Regions from separate parts of the Homo sapiens genome. Here region 1 is linked to region 2. Evidence: promoter capture Hi-C in human tissues and cell types (Jung and others, 2019). All regions are on one chromosome and are shown on one strand. Each heading gives the region's core, a stretch centred on a gene start or on the middle of the fragment in contact. The rest is flanking DNA. Distances are from core to core; before and after follow the strand shown.

The links. The method cuts DNA at HindIII sites, captures the fragments that hold promoters and counts their contacts. A contact is called where the count stands out against the background at its distance.
Region 1: a contact is called between a fragment that was not itself captured here and the fragment with the promoter of TPGS2 in region 2, in 1 of the 25 tissues and cell types used here (aorta).

The regions. Positions count from the first base shown.
Region 1 is chr18:36,677,346-36,684,293 of GRCh38, reverse strand. It overlaps FHOD3 (formin homology 2 domain containing 3), which reads right to left. Exons shown (of 29, transcript NM_001281740.3): 15 at 2,724-2,858. Among named protein-coding and RNA genes, the nearest start is that of TPGS2, 150 kb to the left of the region's middle. The HindIII fragment of the contact is 3,349 bases long and covers 1,096-4,444 here.
Region 2 is chr18:36,825,963-36,833,205 of GRCh38, reverse strand. It overlaps TPGS2 (tubulin polyglutamylase complex subunit 2), which reads left to right and starts at 4,204. Exons shown (of 7, transcript NM_015476.4): 1 at 4,204-4,523. The coding sequence starts at 4,439. KIAA1328 reads right to left here and starts at 4,079. Exons shown (of 10, transcript NM_020776.3): 1 at 4,010-4,079. The coding sequence starts at 4,067. RefSeq lists a silencer at 3,845-4,444 and enhancers at 3,842-4,634, 4,735-4,844. The HindIII fragment of the contact is 11,405 bases long and covers 1-7,243 here.

The DNA of each region.
Region 1 (6,948 bases), core at 1,521-4,020, 150 kb after region 2:
TACATATTTTGTAATGAGATTTGAGGTCTTATTTAAATTCTACAAAGAATCTTGATTTTTGTTTTATTTTGTATTAGCAGGTAATCAACCGGGTTAAGTTCAACCTGCAAGTTGTAACCTGCCTTCAGACATTGGTTCCAATATTAATTCAGTTTTCTGGGATCTGGGTGGTGATCCACTCCCACTCTGTACTTAGTTCTCAAAGCCTATGGCATGCCATGTAGGTTTGAAGCCACATGTGTACAAATCAGACATGCATTCAGGAGTGCTCTCTTGATATCCTGGCTCTTTGTGGCTTTCCTAACACTTTCTGGCTCCTTGGGTTTCCTTTTATGGTCCTCCAGCCAGAAGGCTTGGGCTTTACTTTCCCTGTCCTGCTGCATACTTTTGGTAACTGCATCTGCATCTAGGACAATATAGCAGGAGGAGAGCAAAGTGATATGCCTAGTGATCATGGGGTCATAGCTCTTATGGTCAGAGGAAGAGTTCCCCTCTCTCCCATTTCAGGCAACTGCCTGGACACTGCTGCCATTGCTGTGCTTCTGTAGCAATATTGTTTGGGAGGCTAGGGTAGGAGATAAAGAAATAACAGGAATTCTCTACACTTTTATCTTTAGAAATTCCCTTTACTGTGCCTTGGTCTGGAAAAAGAGGACTTCTTCTGGGGTTCTTTTGGTCCAGATTTGACATACACTTCTAGGTTTGGGTGCCTTTGAGTACATGCCAAGTAATAGTGAAGGTAAAAAATGGTAAACTCTCACTGGTTTTGTAAAACTGAATTTTAGTCTCCCTTCCTAATTTCACCTGCTCTCTTTTATATTTCAGAGTTTTCAGAGTTTCACACATTCTCTCCATGACTTATGGTTGCATTCAGCAATGAAGGAGAGACAGGATGGAGTGAATGAATTCCATTTTCCCCAGAACCAGCACCCTGTTTCAAGAGGTTTTCAATAAAACACTTTGGATGTAAGCTAATCTCTGAATTTTCCATGTATTTCACTCAGATTCTCTGCTGCTATTTGGTGGTAAAATATGCCAATCTCCCAGAAAACCATAAATCAGGAAGCATTTAACCTGTTCCAGAGATTTAAAAAATTGGCCTTTCTAAAAGTGACAACTTCCAGAACTACCCTCATGAAAAATGGTGCATACAGAGCTGGCATTTCCAAATATCGTTTGGTAGAAATGTGACAGCTGAGGGTATGCTACACTATCTTGATGGGAAATGATGTTGGTTTACTTCATGCAGCCCATTCACCCAGTCTTAGAAAAATGAGGATTAGCATTTCAAAGACTTGGCATTTGTTTTCAAGAAGTAGTGACTTATAGTTAAGCAACTTCACAACTGTGCTCATATTTTGATCATTTTTACAATTACACATATACTTCTTGGCTTCAGAAAAGCACAAGTTATTGGCTGGGCATGGTGGCTTATGCCTGTAATCCCAGCACTTTGGGAGGCTGAGGCAGGTGGATCACTTGAGGTCAGGAGTTCAACAGCCTGGCCAACACAGTAAAACCCCATGTCTACTAAAATTACAAAAATTAGCCAGGCGTGGTGGTGTGGCCTGTAATTCCAGCTACTTGGGAGGCTGAAGCTGAAGAATCACTTGAACCCAGGAGGCAGAGGTTGCTGGGAGCCAAGATTGCGCCACTGTACTCCAGCCTGGGCAACAAAGTGAGACTCTGTCTCAAAAAACAAAACAAAACAAAACAAAAACACGTTATTAAATCTGTAAATCCTCATTAACAATGCCTTACATTCCTTGTAGATATAATGGGGAATAATTGATGGGAATATTGTTTGCCAAAGAAACTGAACTAAGGAAACAGGAGGTAGAGATGGGGAGAAAAATGAAAAGAAAGAATGTAGAAGCTATAGGGTAAATGACTTCAAAGGATTAAGGAGGAAGAGAAAGTATAGGAGGAGGTGGGGAAGAAAGGGGGAAAAGGGAAAAAGGATATAAGGAAGAGGAGAAGGAAGTAATGTGTAAGGAGAGATACAGCAACTGTTTTTCATTCCATAAAGCACAGCACAGCATGAAGCCCAGGGGATGGGTGTGAAGGAGGATGACCTGGAGAATGTGGAGAACAGGTGGACTGGCTGAAGGAGAAGCCGAGGCACACTGGGATCAGTGGGGACAGACAGGCCAAGATATGGAACCTGGAATGAGCTATAGCCAGGAACACATCCTTGAAGCTGTACAGAGACCAGGAGATCGGGGGAAATGGGCTGAGAGTAATCAACACAATGACTTTTCCCCCCACATAGCAAGAGATTATTGTTTACAAAAAATATTGAAGATTGTTACAGGGATCAAAAAGCAAACCAGAAAGTGGGAAAAGCATTTCTTTTTGGGCATCTGATAGAATATGAATAAAACATGAGGACCATTAGGAAGAGATGGCAAATTAAGTTAAGATAATTACACTCTCTGTCATCCGGAGGGCCTGGATAGGACGAGGTAGGTAATGGAGGGCCCAAGAATACATGAGTCCCTAATTGTATTTGGCTGACTGTGCTTCCTGCCATATGGTTAGAGAAACAAAAGCCATAACAAACCAGATCCAGCCTATTTCAGGTATGTCTTTCTCTTCCTTAAAAATACAGACAGAATTTTCATTACTTCCTTTAATGCCAATATTAAATGTATACAGTTGTAAAGTCACATGCCTTTAATTTTTAACTCACTATTTAAAAAAAATCTTAAGATCCTTCTTACCTGAATTTGTTTCTTTCTTCCCGCTCTATTCTCTGCAACCTTTCTTCTCTCTCCTGCCGCCGCCTCTCTCTCTCTGCTGCCAGTGACTCTTGGTGCTGCCTGAAGGATGATGTGAGAAGACCACTCGGTGATGACCTGGAGATACAATGAGTTAATGTTTCAGTTGCTTGGCCTGTGATTAAAAGTACTGAAGTAAGCACCAGTCAGACCTTGGTTAGAATTGAGGGTCTGCCGGTACCTAGGCAATGCTTGGGGAAAATCACTGAATGCCTCGGGTCTTCTTGTTTCAGATTTTTGTCTGTAAATTGGGGAAAAGTATCATACTGTGAGTGTGCTCGCAGGAGAAAAGGTGGTAACAGACAGAAAATAGCAAGCAACATGCTTGACATGTAAGCAGCCCTCAAGAATGGGAGTTATAGAAGTATTCCAGGAATGTATATACATTCTATATATATTTTACAGTTGGTCTATGTTAAGACGTAGATGAGCTAGAATCAGCTTTCAATCTAAAACTATTTTCTACCTATCTATCAGGTAATACATTCATTATTTGGGTAACAGGATCATTAGAAGCTTAAACCTCAGCATCATGAAAGATACCGATTAACAAACCAGCACATGTACCACCAAATCTAAAATTTTAAAAAAAGTGATTTTATAAAACTATTTTCTATTATACATGCACTAAAAATATTTTACTATATATCAGTCTCACAATACACTTCTTTAGAATAATTGAACAAGGCAATGAGATGACAGATGAGGACAAAAAAACTTGCAATGGGCTGAAATGTGAATAGAATTAAGGAAATTTCATTCTATGACATTCTATGTCAAGAAGCATCCAAGGACTCAGCATGGTCAAAGGACAGGCAGTGGTATTAGTAACATCACACAAGAGTCTGGACTGTTCACTGAAAATGTGTGTGAAAGCCTTGGAGAGAAACCACAGGGTGAGTATCACAGGAGATGTTAAATCAGAGAATGAGTGGGAGAAGAGAAAATCAAGTAACCGTATGACATATAAGGAAAGGGGTTAGCTATGTAAAGGAGTCTGATGGATCTCTGGAGAATAAAATCTGTTATGGACAATTGAGGCCTTCACTTATGGAAAAAAATCTCCAAAACAAAGAGAAAAATATTTATGAAATATATTTTGCCAATTTATTTATCCAAGGATATAGCTTGGGTAAAATCCTACCTGGATTCAGTGAAAAATATACCTGCAAGGTGGGGAACACAGATCTCAGTGCAGGAGAAAGATGTGACTTTCATATTACAGACTGCCATGAGTCCCACAGATGTTCTCCCTAGAAAAGGTGAGTCACCTATGGCTATCACTCATAGGTGGCAGGGAAAATGGAGGGAAGAAACCACCATCCCTGGCAGCTACAGGGAGGGAGTAACCAAATTCAATATTCCAGGCTCACTATGGAACTATTTCCATCAGCTCTGGACACTAAGGCATAGATAGAGTTTATTTATCTTCCTCATAAAATAAGTTCAGACAAACTTCTAACTTTTGTAAGCTATTATTATTTTGTGGGAATTCTTCCCTGCTGTATCCAGCCAAACCTAATCAACAATCAGAGTAAAGAGGTTTGTAATACCTCTTGCACAGTAATTGATAAAACTGTTATGCATATAATAGATTTGTTTAACCCAATTAATAAGTTTTATCTAATAGATTAACATGTATATAACCTGGTGCCCAAATGGGAGAAAACATATTCTTTCAAATATATAAGGACTACTCAAAAATTGACCATCAATTGTGTCACAAAGCTCAAGAATGAATGCCACAAACTGGTTTCACACGAGCTACCTTACTGATCATAATGCAACTGCATTGAAAATCAATAACAAGGAGATAAATTTGAAAAAAATCCATATAATTGGAAAAACTAAAACATGTCTAATAACTTAGGTCAGAAAAAAAAACATGGACAATTAGAATACATTTAAAGGGTACCATAATGAAAAAGCTGAATATGAAGTTTTGTAGAATACCTCTAAAGTAGTATTTAGAAGGAAATTTATTGTCTTAAGTATTTATATTAGAAGAAAAGAAAGAGTAAAAATTAATGAGTGATCAGCTCAACAATTGGAAAGGCAACAGTGGAATAAATTCAAAGAAGGCAAAAGGAAAAAAATAAAGAGCAAAGACTAATAAAATAGGAAAACGAAGGTGTATAGACAAAAATCAACAAAACTAAAAGCTGGTTTATAATTGTGAAAAACCTAATAGACAAGTTCCATCAAAATTATTCAAGAAAAAGGGCCATAAATGAGCATATTCAGGAATGACAGGTAAATACAATTATAGATATAGTGACCAAAAAACATTACAAAAATAAGGGGAAATTTTTATAATACACTTGAAAAATTAAAGAAATGGATGATTTTCTAAAAACATATAATTGACCAAATCTGATTGAGAAAGAAATAGAAATTTTGAATAGCCCTGTTAACAAAAGAAATTGAGTTAATTAATTACAAATATATTCACACCCATGAAAAAAAATCCACGAAAGTCAGATTTTTAATGTGATTTCTACTACTCAAGGAAGAGTTCAAGTTAGACATATGGAAAGTTTCAGACAACATAAAGAAGAAAAAATCTCCCACAACCCATTTTACATGATTCATATTACTCTGACACTAAAGCCAGATAAGAACAGTGTGAAGACGGCAACTTATATACTATTTGCAATTATGAACACCAACGCAAAAATCTGAAACAAAATCACATTGGGTTTGCCCAACAAATGTAAGGGTAATGTAAGATGACAGTATAAATGAATACAATTTACCACGTTAATAGTTTATTGGAGAAAAACCATGGCTACCTCTGCAAATGCAGAAAAAGCTTTAAATTCAACAACCATTTGTTTAAAAAAAAAAACCCTTTACTATGCTTAGTAATAGAAGAAAACTTTCTTAATCTGACAGTGGGTATTTGGCAAGGAAAATTTTAAAAACTAGAGTAAGTATCTTTTTTTCTTTCTTTCTTTCTTTCTTCTTTTTTTTTTTTTTTTTTTTTTTTGAGACAGGGTCTCATTGTCACTCAGGCCAGAATGATCATGGCTCACTGAATCCTTGACCTCCCGAGCTCAAGTGATTCTCCCACCTCAGCCTCCTGAATAGCTGGGACCACAGGCATGCACCATCATGCCCATTTAATTTTTGTGTTTTTTGTAGAGTTGGGGTTTTGCCATGTTGCTCAAGCTGGTCTCGAACTCTTGGGCTGAAGCAATCCTGCCTTGGCCTCCCAAAGTGCTGGGATTACAGGCATGAGCCACTATACCTGGCCAGTATCATTCTTAATGCTGAAATATTAAGAACAGTTTACTGTTAAAAATAATATAAGGATGTTTCCATCATTGCTTATATTTGACATTATTCTGGTGGTCCAAGCCAGAATACTAAGAAAAGTAAAAAGCATAAGGGAAGGAAAGAAATACAACATCACTATTTACAGATAATCTGACCATCTATAAAGATAATCCAAGAAAACCTATGTTATTTTATTAAGAGTCTAGCAAAGTTTCTATATATAAAACATAGAAATAGCAATTACATTTTTACATTAGCAACAATTTACCAAGTTAATCATAAGCTAACTATGAAATTACTTAACTAATAATATGAAAGACCTTTATAAAACCTTATTAAAAGACCCAAATGAAAGCTATATCACATTTATGTATTGAAAAAAATCAATGCAGTCAGGATGCCAATTCTTTTTTTCCAATTAATACAATTTCAAATCAATATCCCAAAAGGATTTTTCATGAAATTTTATGAGCTGAGTCCAAAATTTTTACACAGGACCTGAGGTTTTAAGGATAACCAAGACAATTTTGAGTAAGAACAAAGCAGAGCACTGGCCACATTCAATATGAAGCCCATTCTGAAACCACAATGATTGCCCGTCAAAGTGGTCTTGGTGCACAAATGAAAACATGGACGAATGGAGTGAGACAGTGAGCCATGACACAGACTCATACACAGATAGAATCCTGATTCATGTCAAATGTGTTATTACACATCTGTGGGGAAGTGATGGACTGTTTAACAAATGGTGCTGAGACAACTTTTAGCCATATAAAACAAAATACAGGCTGGGCATGGTGGCTCATGTCTGTAATCCCAGCACTTTGGGAGGCTGAGGCGGGATCACCTGCGGTCAGGAGTTTGAGACCAGCCTGACCAACGTGGAGAA
Region 2 (7,243 bases), core at 2,955-5,454:
CCCGCTACTATCTGCCTCTTTCCTGCTTTATTTTTTCTCCACAGCACCAATATCATTGAACATAGGCCAGGTGCAGTGGCTCACGTCTGTAATCCCAGCACTTTGGGAGGCCGAGGTGGGCATATCACGAGGTCAGAAAATCGAGATCATCCTGGCTAACACGGTGAAACCCTGTCTCTACTAAAAATGTAAAAAAAAAAAATTAGCCGGGCATGGTGGCGGGTGCCTGTAGTCCCAGCTACTCCAGAGGTTGAGGCAGGAGAATGGTGTGAACCCAGAAGGCGGAGCTTGCAGTGAGCTGAGATGGCACCACTGCACTCCAGCCTGGGCAACAGACCGAGACTCTGACTCAAAAAAAAAAAAAAAAATCATTGAACATATATTTTCCTTATTCATGACCTGATCTCATCTCACTAAAATGTAGGCACCAAGAGGGTAATGATTTTTGTTTTATTTTGTTCAGTGTTGTACCCTCAAACATAAAAGAATGTCTGGCTCCATCTATGAAAGAATAAAATTGGTATTGATTTAATTTTATGAGGTGTTGTCCAACAACCTTATATGTTATATTTCTGTGATTCTAAATATGCAAACAAAACTTTTTTTTTTTTTTTTTTTTGAGACAGAGTCTCGCTCTGCCACCCAGGCTGGAGTGCAGCGGTTTGATCTCAGCTCACTGCAACCTCCACCTCCTAGGTCAAGCAATTCTCTGCCTCAGCCTCCCGAGTAGCTGGGATTACAGGTGCCCGCCGCCACACCTGGCTAATTTTTTTTGTAGTTTTAGTAGAGACGGCCGTTTCATCATGTTGGCCAGACTGGTTTTGAACTCCTGACCTTGTGATCCACCTGCTTTGGCCTCCCAAAATGCTGGGATTACAGGTGTGAGCCACCGCAAGCGGCCAACAAAACCTTTTACTTTCAGCTACATCCATGACAAATTTATTTTCAAATATATAAAACTCTAAACAAACTACTTCAATATTTTTAATAACAATATTTGAAATTGCCTCTATCCTTTCTAATAATTTGTAATGTATTTTCATCTCATTATATTAAGAACCCAAATATTTACCTCCTTCAAATCTAGAATTTCCCAACAAATGTATATTTTATGGGGAAGTCAAACAGACACATTATATACCAAATGTATAGTGGGCCTACTAGTGGGTCATTTCTAGATTATTTATAATACCTAAAACAATGTACATGCTATATAAATAGTAGTTAAATTGTACAGTTTAATTTGTATTTTTTTGTGTGCTATTTCTTTTTTTTCTCAAATATTTTCCATCCACATTTGAATGAATCAGCAGATACAGAGGGCTAACTGTAATTAGAAACCCAGGCAGAAGTGGTAGAGAGGAAGATGCACCTCTATCCCAGACCTCCAGGATTTGAAGGAAATAAGTTCAGTACTGCCCATTCTACTCTAATCTGCTGAGTTTTGCCAGCAATACATGTATATGTAATTATTATCAACCACAGAGACTTTCTGGGCTAATATATTATTTTTACCACAACATACAGTCTTTGTTTCCATTTGAAAACTCAACAGCAGAGATTATACTGCAATGTTTTGACCAGGTCACTTGCAGTTCATATTTTTTAATATCAAGTCCATGATATTGCTAATGGTAATACACTTGAGTGCATTTAAGCAGTCAAATTTAGGTACTGCTGAAACACTAACTCATTCTGACATTACTAGGAACTGTAATGAAGGACAAAGGCAACTTAAACTGAAGGAGCATATTTTGCTGGAAGATTTAACCCATAACATGACAACACCACACACTCATTGTTTACAGATGAGGTACTAAAACGTTCCTTGTGCAAAACAGCACTGCTGAATCATACTGTGCAGGAGATGTATAACTCACAACAACAACAATAAAAAAAAAAGGTGCCATTGAGTCACAGATGATCTGTCCTCTCATGATGGAAACATCAAGGACTAAGAAATCTCTCCATCACATTTCTCTAAATGTTTAGGTGAAGTATTGAAAATCTTTTTTCAATAGTGTGAAAAGAATACCAGATTATAGGTACTTACTTTTTGGTCTTTTTCTATTGAAAATTCTACTATAAAGGCTCTAGGGTGGTCTGGGAAATAATCAATATGACAAAGGAATCAAGATGCAAAGACATGTAACTAAATCAAATGATTAATAACTATCATTATGCTTTTCAGCAAATATTCAGTAACAAATTTACATTTGACATTGCTTACAGTGACATTCTCTATGGAGATTTAAAATGAAAATATCTGAGGCTCGATGTTAACTGGTCATTACGTGGAATAGTCTGAGGGGAAAGGTGACACTAGCAACTTTGCAATTCCTTTCATACATCTGAATTAGATCTTATAGGATATAATCGCCACCATTTTTCCCCTGTACAATTTCAATTCCTCACTATCTATGAGAGGACGAATATTTTACATTAAATGTTGGGAGTCAGAATACAAGAGATAACGGAGTATATATGACTTCTACATAAAATAGGGGGTGATATAACTACATGAGTAAGTGAAAGTACTGGGTGCGAAGACCAAGAGCTTAGGTTCAGTCCATATATCTATTAATACACTTATTCAGTCCCATTGCAATAGCTTGTCCCCCCCCCAAACCATTGATTCTATATTTGAACAGTACCATAGGATGCTATAAGCTAATAACCTTCAAGTATCTCCTCCATCACAAAATTATGTCAATGCAGAAGCAGTGTTTCTTGAGAAAAGACTTATCCCAATTTCCTAACTTCCTAATTCAGCCCAGTTGTCCACAGTGCACATATTCTCTTCTGAAAGGTAAAGGAAAAAATATTTAATTTGCACACTGCACTAGTATGCTTTCATCCACAGTGTATGTACATGATTTCATTTGCTTTTCACCAACCTATCAGAGACAAATGGTAATTATGTCTAGTAAGTGCAAACACTAAACACGAGCAGCACAGAATACAAACATATCCCTCTCTCTACACATGACACTAATCCTAGTAACTCAACAAAGGAGTTGATAACACAGTTTTGTAAGTTTCACTGGGAGCTAAGAAGAATGCCCAGTGATTCTGCCAAAGGTAACAGCAACGCCTCAATTAATGCCATCACCAATCCTAGCAAACACAAAAAGAGCTGCCTCTGCAAGCACTCAGTAACACAGATTGCCGTCCCTCTTTCAAGTAACCCCTCTAAGGAACGTGAAGTAAATTATCAGGACCAAAGCTCAAGCGAGAAGAGTCTACCTACTCCAAGGAAAGAAACACTCCTGTCACACAAACATCTCATCACTGCTGCTGAACTGGTAATACTACCACTGGACTAAAAAGTTCCACTGCTTCTCCACCTCACAACGATCCAAGAACTTCAATGACTGCCAGTGACCCGCACTCCACAAGTAAGTCAACAATACTTCCAGGCACAATGATTCCCATCTTACGCAGTAACCAGCACCACCAGACCACATCCCAGTAACCAAGCTCCACACCTCTCCTAAAACCCCAGTATTAAAATACATCATCACTGGAGGGCCTTTTAAGTCCGAAAGGTCCTGACTTGCTCCTAGCAATGCAGACTAAAGACAATCCTAAATCAAAACAAAAAGGCTCCCTGTCCAGCCAACACCGACTCCTCCCTCAACTTCGAGCTAGCTCCGCACACTCAAGTCAGCCTGGGGGCACTCTGACAGGGTGGGCAGAGGGACCTCGGAGGGCCATCTCAGCCCTGGACTGAGCCTGGACTCAAGGCTATCTTTCTCGAGCTCACCGGTAGTGAGCGCTGGGAAGCATCTGAGCCGTGTCCCCACACCTGCAGACAGTACCAGTCTCTCGGCCACCTAACACCCAAGCAAGGGGAGAGCCCAGCACCTAGACTGGGGCCGAGCAGCACGTCCCCATCCCCGGGGTTAGTTCGGAGCTTCTCCTCCGCTCTCGGACTGCCACGCGACGGCTCGCCCCTCGCCGTCCCGTGGAGGGCGCCGGCGCCCCCTGTCAGGCGGGCAAAGGATACAGTCCCGGCTCCAGAACGCCGCGGCACTGGGGCGGGAGGGGCCCGCCACGTCCGCCATCTTGAAACAACCGCCACTCGGGGCGTCGCGCCTGGGCCGCCACGCCTCGGCCTGCAGGCTCGGTCCCCATTGGCCGCACCACGCAGAGGCCCGCCCCCGCCTGCGCGGCCGGCCCCTGCGGGGCGAGAGGGTGGGGGCGAAGGGGAAGCTACGTCCCGGAGGTGCGGTGTGGGGCACCGGGCGGGGCCGCGGGAACCGGCGCCCCACGGAGCTGCTGCTGTCAGACCAACCCCGGGCCCCCATCATCACTGCGCCGCGCTTTCAGGCGCCGAGAACTACCGTTCCCGGCATGCCATGAAATTGGCCTCGGCGCTGAGGCGGGGTCCGGCCCTCCACCCGCTCCCGCCGCGCGCGAATCGCGGTCGCGAGCCATGGAGGAGGAGGCATCGTCCCCGGGGCTGGGCTGCAGCAAGCCGCACCTGGAGAAGCTGACCCTGGGCATCACGCGCATCCTAGGTGAGGAAAGGGGGCACGGTGCCGAGAGGGTGTGGAGGAGAAGGAAGGAGGAGCGGAGGGATGAGGTGCGGGGTGAGCGGTGCGACGCTGGCCCCAGAACAGGAGTGGACATCGCTGCTGGGACTTCCGTTGTTACAGAGGAAAGTGGGGGACCTGGGTTTGTGATTAGGCCTTGAAAGTGTTTGCCAGGAGTGTTCGGAGGCAGAGCTGGGAAGCCTGAAGTTTCCCCCACTCACCGCCAACCAAGGTCCCACCCAGGAAGGACGGGCAGAGACGTGCAAAGGGAACACAGCAAGCACCTGACGGTTGGGAAGTTGGATCTCCCCCTAGGAGGCATTCTCAGCCAGGGCATTATCCCCGAAACCCAAGACCTTTCTCTGGGGGAAGTAATGCACCCGACCTCCCAGGGCGACAACTACGTCGGGTCTGAAAGGAATCCAACCTTGCACCACTGAATGACTCAGAGTTTTTCTTTTATCGAACATTTCTTTGTTTGCTTGCTTGTTTGTATTTTGAGACAGAGTTTTGCTCTTGTTGCCCAGGCTGGAGTGCAATGGCGCGATCTCGGCTCACTGCAACCTGCGCCTCCTGGGTTCAAGCAATTCTCCTGCCTCGCCCAGCTATTTTTTTGTATTTTTAGTAGAGACAGGGTTCCACCATGTTGGCCAGGCTGGTCTCGAACTCCTGACCTCAGGTGATCCACCCGCCTCGACCTCCCAAAGTGCTGGAATTACAGGCGTGAGCCACCGCGCCTGGCCTATCAAACGTTTCTTTAGTACTCACCACTATGTTAGACGTGAGGTTAAAAATATGAAAAAGACACAGTTCTGTGAAAAAAATAAACAAATGAGGTCACTAGGAGTGTGAAAAGAGGTCAGTAATCTGTTACTCAGAGATGTCACAGAGGAGGGGACTGATCTTACCAGGGAAGTTAAAGAACATGTCACAGAGGAGATGATGCTAGATTTTGAAAGACATATAGGAGTTAGCCAGAAAACTAAGGAGGAGAAAGGTCTTTTAAGAAGGCTGAAAAGCATGCTTCAGTGCCTTCCCATCACAATTATAATAAAATCCAAATGTCTGTACCATGACCCACAAGTCCCTGTAAGATCTGCTCTCATCTCTTTCTGACTTTGTTTCCACTCTTGCCCACATGGCCTTCTAGCTGTACCTTAAACACACTAAGCGGGTTCCTGCTTCAGGGCTTTTGCAGTTTGCTAGTCCTTGCACCTGGAATTATCTTTCTCTGAATGTCTCGCTTCTTCAGGTCATTCAGATCTCTGATCAAATGTCATTATTTCAGAGAAACCTTCCCTGAATATAGTTCGAATAACCGCCGTCTTTCTTGCTCTCTCTTTCCTTACCCTGCTTTTTCTTTTATTCTTATAGCACTTTCACTACTTGAAATTATGTATTTGTTTGGTTGATTTTTAAAATTTGTGTCTCTTTTAATAGAAGTCCAAGACCAAGTGTGATTTAGGAATGAGTGGTTTTAACATATGAAAATCAATTAATAGCTGGGCATGGTGGCCCATGTCTTTAGTTCCAGCTACTGGGGAGGCTGTGGTGGGAGGGTTATTAGAGCCCAGTTCAAGTCCAGCTGGACAACATAGCAAGACCCTGTCACTAAAAAAAAAGAAACTTAAAAAAAATCAATTAATATAATACAACTTACTAATAGAATAAGACAAAAACTGCATAATCATCTTAATAAAAAAAGCATTTGACAAAATCTAACCTTTCTTGATTAAAAAAAACTCAACAAACTAGAAATAGGATGGGATAGAGATAGAATTTCCTCAACCTGATGAAGGACATCTATGAAAAACCCACATCTAACATCATATGTAATGGTGAAAGACTGGCAGCTTTCCCCTTAAAATCAGGAACAAAAATTGTATTAGGGTTCCCCAAGATCACACCAGATTCAATGATTTGACGCAAGGATTACAGGACTCAGGAGATAGTCCTACTCATGGCTATGATTCATTACAACAAAAGGATTTTGGCAGCCCGATTGGCAGACCTTTCTGAGGATTATTGTCTCGGGCCTGCTATGTTCACTCTTTTCTGCATGGCAAGAATTCCACTTTTATCACTTCTCTTCAACATTGTACTGGAGTTTCTAGCTAGGGCAATTAGGCAAGAAAATGAAATAAAGACATCCAATTGAAAAGGAAGAAGGTAAGCTATCTGTTTGCAGATGACATGATCTTGTATATAAAAAATCCTAAGGAATCCACACACACACACACACACACACACACACACACACACAGCCTATACACCAGCAATGAACAATCCAAAAATAAAACTAAGAACAATTCAATTTACAATAGTATTGAAAAGAATAAAATGTAGCTGGCACAGTGGCTCACACCTGTAATCCCAACACTGGGAGGCCAAGGTGAGAGGATTGCTTGAGACCAGGAGTTGCAGACCAGCCTGGGCAACATAGCCTTTATGAAATATTTTAAAATTAGCCATGTGTGGTGGTGCATGCCTTAGTCCTAGCTACTCAGGAGGCTGAGATAGGAGGATTGCTTGAGCCCAGGAGTTCGAGGCTACAGTGACCTGTGATCACACCACAGCACTCCAGCCCGGGCAACAAGAGTGAGACCCTATCTCAAAAAAAATAAAAGAATAAAATAGGAATAAATTAACACAAGATGTCCATGACTTATGTACTGAAAATTACATAAGACTGTGGAAAGAAATTA